Linked DNA regions of Homo sapiens: region 2 is linked to region 1. The links are contacts of gene promoters, found by promoter capture Hi-C in blood cells and fetal thymus (Javierre and others, 2016). All regions are on one chromosome and are shown on one strand. Each heading gives the region's core, a stretch centred on a gene start or on the middle of the fragment in contact. The rest is flanking DNA. Distances are from core to core; before and after follow the strand shown.

The links. The method cuts DNA at HindIII sites, captures the fragments that hold promoters and counts their contacts. A CHiCAGO score of 5 or more calls a contact.
Region 2: the fragment with the promoter of OR2AE1 here is called in contact with the fragment with the promoter of AZGP1 in region 1 in 2 of 17 cell types (erythroblasts and M1 macrophages); the score reaches 8.1 in erythroblasts.

The regions. Positions count from the first base shown.
Region 1 is chr7:99,974,570-99,977,356 of GRCh38, reverse strand. AZGP1 (alpha-2-glycoprotein 1, zinc-binding) reads left to right here and starts at 1,326. Exons shown (of 4, transcript NM_001185.4): 1 at 1,326-1,412. The coding sequence starts at 1,337. The HindIII fragment of the contact is 13,516 bases long and covers 1-2,678 here.
Region 2 is chr7:99,875,693-99,878,392 of GRCh38, reverse strand. It overlaps OR2AE1 (olfactory receptor family 2 subfamily AE member 1), which reads left to right and starts at 1,360. Exons shown (of 1, transcript NM_001005276.1): 1 at 1,360-2,331. The coding sequence starts at 1,360. The coding sequence ends at 2,331. The HindIII fragment of the contact is 12,247 bases long and covers 816-2,700 here.

The sequences.
Region 1 (2,787 bases), core at 77-2,576:
GCCATCCATCCTCTACATAATCTAACAAATAATTAAACTCTGAGCATGAGGTATTTTTGCTGGAGCAATCTTGCCAATAATGCCCTTTTGGAGCCCAATCAATAACAATACCTGCGGCTAGACTTTGGAGCACAACGGCCTTAGGAGCATTACAATTATTCCATAAAATTGAAGTCACTATAAAAGGTCCCTTTGTAGGTTTCTTTAACCAAAAGAGAGGCTGGGCACAGTTGCTCACACTAGTAAACCCAGCACTTTGGGAGACCGAGGCGGGCAGATCACGAGGTCAGGAGTTCAAAACCAGCTTGGCCAACATGGTGAAACCCCTGCCTCAGCTTCCTGAGTGCTGGGATTATAGGCATGTGCCACCACGCGCAGCTAATTCTTGTATTTTTTCAGTAGAGACGAGGTTTCATCATGTTGCCCAGGCTGGTCTCGAGTACCTGACCTCAACCTGAGGTGATCCAACCACCTCAGCCTCCCAAAGTGCTGGGATTACAAGCATGAGTCACCGCACCCGGGCCCCAGTCACTTTAGAATAGCATGTTGCTTTGTATTCGGAGGGTCTCTCTGCAAATAGCCCATCAACACTGAGCGTGCCTGGAAAGACCTGGTTTTCAAATAACTGGCTTCGTCTGTGTAAAACGAGTCTTGTTGTATGCATTAAAAATTATCTTGGCTGGGCGTGGTGGCTCACGCCTTTAATCCCAGCATTTTGGGAGGCTCGTTCTGTTGCCAGGGAGGCTGCAAAAGGAGGATGCGGCTATTTCTGCTTCCATCATGGAAGGCTGGGATTCCACAGGCACAGAAAGGAAGGAGGGAGAGATGGGAATGTGACTGTCCTCCAGACACAGCCTCTGGCAGGATCGGATGTGGGAGAGTGAGGGTCCCACCCCAGCTGGGGTCTACCCAGGTCCATGTCTTGGACATGTTGAGAGTTTTTCTGGAAGGCAGGGATACAGTGTGGTCCAAAAACACACAAATGCCCCTACTGGCCCAGGGGTTGTCACAATAGACTGGAAGGGTGACACATCCCAGGCGCTTGCCACCCATCACACGCACCTCCTACCCACTGGCATCCTTCCACCCCAGGCACACACAAAGCCTCAGTCCAGAGATCAACTCTGGACTCAGCTCTGAATTTGCATATCCTGTGTGTAGATTCATTCTTCATAACCTCTGCCCAGCCTAGCTTGTGTATCATTTTTTTTTCTCTATTAGGGGAGGAGCCCGTCCTGGCACTCCCATTGGCCTGTAGATTCACCTCCCCTGGGCAGGGCCCCAGGACCCAGGATAATATCTGTGCCTCCTGCCCAGAACCCTCCAAGCAGACACAATGGTAAGAATGGTGCCTGTCCTGCTGTCTCTGCTGCTGCTTCTGGGTCCTGCTGTCCCCCAGGAGAACCAAGATGGTGAGTGGGGAAAGCAAGGGATGGGTGCTGGAGAGGACTGGAAGGAGGTGAGGAACAGGACATGTGGCTGGGAGACAGGCTGGATGCAGCTGGGATACCCTGGCATACGGCAGGAATGGGTGCCCAAGGCTGTCAACTCCCTCAGCTCACACACTTCCAGGAGCATTCAGGGAGCCTCTGCGCTGGCCCGAAATAAGACCTTCAGGAATCTGAATCTAAAACCCCTAGTTTACAGTGAAAACAAAGACTCCAAAGACCAAGCGACCTGCTTGGGGTAGACAGTCAGGACGGAGTAGGAACCATATGCCTGGAGCTGCTTCTGCTCCTGTTCCTTCCCTCCTTCCGATGGCTGGGTACACCTGCCTGACGCTGAGGGAAAGAGAGAGCAGCCCCAAGGGGAAAGTGGGAAGGCAGGTTGGCTGGAGGGATGGTGCTAGAAGGAAACCCGTGCCCAAATCCCACACTCAGACACCACTGCAGTGGGTCTGGAAGGCGAGTGGCTGGAAGAGAAGAGAGTGGGAGCTCCGGGAGATCAAGAGTCACTCCTAGGATAAGGGAAGGAGGCTGTTTGTGGCATGAGAATGTGCAGGATAAAGACATGGAAGCGAATGGCTTCTCAGTTGTGTGAGTTTAAAATTCATGACATTTACAAATTGTCAGAAAAGGTGTTATATGTTTGTTATATAACAATCACTTTGGAATGTTAATCTGATTCTGTGCCAAAATCTGAATTACTCAGGGTTCTCCAGAGAAACAGAACTAATAGGTGGTACACATATACATATATATGTACGTACACATACATACATACACTGTATACACATGGATACACACACACATAGGAAGAGATTTACATATATGTATACAAAAGAGAGAGAGAGTAGAGATTTATTTTAAGAAATTGACTCACACTATTGGGAGGAGTAACAAGTCCTAAATCTTCAGAGCCGGCCAGCAGGCTGGAGACCCAGGGAAGAGTTGATGTCTTAGTCTTGATTCCAAGGGCAGACTGTAGGCAGAATTCTTTCCTCTTTAGGGGACATCTGAGGCTTTTTCTCTTAAGGCCTTCAACTGATTGGATGAAGCCCACCACTATGGAGAGTAATCCACTTTACTCAAGGTCTACTGATTTTTTTGTAAATTAAAAAAAAAACTGTGGGTGCATAGTATGTGTATATATTTATGGGGTACATGAGAGGTTTTGATTCAGGCATGCAATGTGAAATAATCACATCATCAAAAATGAGGTATCCATCCCTTCAAGCTTTTATCGTTTGTGTTACAGACAATCCAATTATACTTTTTTGGTTATTTTAGTTTTTAAAAGTATTTGATTATTTATTTATTTATTTATTTTTGAGACAGAGTCTCACTC
Region 2 (2,700 bases), core at 111-2,610, 99 kb after region 1:
CACCACGCCCGGCAAATTTTTTGTATTTTTAGTAGAGACGGGGTTTCACCGTGTTAGCCAGGATGGTCTCCATCTCCTGACCTCGTGATCCACCTGCCTCGGCCTCCCAAAGTGCTGGGATTACAGGCGTGAGCCGCCGCGCCCGGCCAGGTGTGTGCATTTTTAATCTGGCCATTAAGAAGCGCCCCAGCGGCCGGGTGCGGTGGTTCACGCCTGTAATCCCAGCACTTTGGGAGGCCGAGGCGGGGGGATCACGAGGTCAGGAGATGGAGACCATCCTGTCGAACACGGTGAAATCCCCGTCTCTACTAAAAATACAAAAAATTAGCCGGGTGTGGTGGCAGGCGCCTGTAGTCCCAGCTACTACGGAGGCTGAGGCAAGAGAATGGCATGAACCCGGGAGGCGGAGCTTGCAGTGAGACGAGATCGGGCCACAGCATTCCAGCCTGGGCGACAGAGCAAGACTCCAACTCAAAAAAAAAAAAAAAAAAAAAAAGAGGCGCCCCAGCTTCTGCAGGATATCCACACCGCCAATTTCAGAGACAACAAGAACTGACATGGGTTTCAGTCTGCCTTTGTGGGATTGCAGCTCATGCTTGTGGGTTCCAGCATGACTTTGATCTGCCACTCTTTATATCCATTTTTTTTTTCCTGACTACTTGCCCTCTGGAATTAAAGTTCCAGCATCAGACACAAAGGTAACAGCCACGCATAGATTGCCTAACCAGCTTCCACAATTGTATAAGAGAAATCTCTTAGTGTTATAGCTTTTCTAGTAAAATCCTCACTGATAAAATAAGCAACGCCCCCAAGCTTTTCTCCAAACTGTCTCTCTGTGTGTGTCTGTATAGAGAGAGAGAGCTTAAAAATCTGCCTTCACAAACATGATCACTCTGAAATCTCAGAATATCTAGACTCCATTAAGTATCAAACTTCAAGTCTCTTCTCATTAAGAAAGACAAATGTGTGTGTGTGTGTGTGTGTGTATACATATGTGTGTTTTGGAAGCCTAGGAAGTAAATGGGGAATAAATATATACACACATACATATACATACACACACACACACACACACATATATATCTTTCTTAACGAGAAGAGACTTGAAGTTTGATAATAGAGTCCAGATATTCTGAAATTTCAGAGTGATTATGTTTGTGAAGGCAGATTTCTAAGCTCTCTTTTAAAAAAAGGTTATTTGAATAATTAGAGAGGTTGAATAATTAGAAACGGAAATTTTTTTCACAGGTTCTGTCCTCTATCAAAAGGTGCTTTTCCTTGGGTATACTGGACCCCAGTATTTCCAGTCACACTCTTTATCTCCACTCTCTGTTTCCTCAGGGATTGAGAAAGGGGACAATGTGGCAGAAGAATCAGACCTCTCTGGCAGACTTCATCCTTGAGGGGCTCTTCGATGACTCCCTTACCCACCTTTTCCTTTTCTCCTTGACCATGGTGGTCTTCCTTATTGCGGTGAGTGGCAACACCCTCACCATTCTCCTCATCTGCATTGATCCCCAGCTTCATACACCAATGTATTTCCTGCTCAGCCAGCTCTCCCTCATGGATCTGATGCATGTCTCCACAATCATCCTGAAGATGGCTACCAACTACCTATCTGGCAAGAAATCTATCTCCTTTGTGGGCTGTGCAACCCAGCACTTCCTCTATTTGTGTCTAGGTGGTGCTGAATGTTTTCTCTTAGCTGTCATGTCCTATGACCGCTATGTTGCCATCTGTCATCCACTGCGCTATGCTGTGCTCATGAACAAGAAGGTGGGACTGATGATGGCTGTCATGTCATGGTTGGGGGCATCCGTGAACTCCCTAATTCACATGGCGATCTTGATGCACTTCCCTTTCTGTGGGCCTCGGAAAGTCTACCACTTCTACTGTGAGTTCCCAGCTGTTGTGAAGTTGGTATGTGGCGACATCACTGTGTATGAGACCACAGTGTACATCAGCAGCATTCTCCTCCTCCTCCCCATCTTCCTGATTTCTACATCCTATGTCTTCATCCTTCAAAGTGTCATTCAGATGCGCTCATCTGGGAGCAAGAGAAATGCCTTTGCCACTTGTGGCTCCCACCTCACGGTGGTTTCTCTTTGGTTTGGTGCCTGCATCTTCTCCTACATGAGACCCAGGTCCCAGTGCACTCTATTGCAGAACAAAGTTGGTTCTGTGTTCTACAGCATCATTACGCCCACATTGAATTCTCTGATTTATACTCTCCGGAATAAAGATGTAGCTAAGGCTCTGAGAAGAGTGCTGAGGAGAGATGTTATCACCCAGTGCATTCAACGACTGCAATTGTGGTTGCCCCGAGTGTAGAGTGGAATAGGATAAGCTCCTTAAATTAATTCATATAAACCTCTAAAGTTTTTCAGGGAGATAGCTTCCTTATGCTGTTTTACTACTGGAAGAAAAACACATTTAACACACAATTCCAGTATTCCAGCTTGGTGTCAGGTATCCAAGCACTGTGGAGAACATTTGAGTAGATCTTTAGAGAATTAGGGAAAACTTTTTAAAAAGTCCCTTTGAAAGAAGACATATAAAGGTCACTGACACCCTGAAAAAAAGAAGGCAAGATAAAGATATAAGGGCCCTTATCTATTATTATTTTTATTAACAAAAATATATAAAACATGCCACCAGAGAGTATTTATGGAGTTTAAAATTGGAGTGTGTTGCTTACTT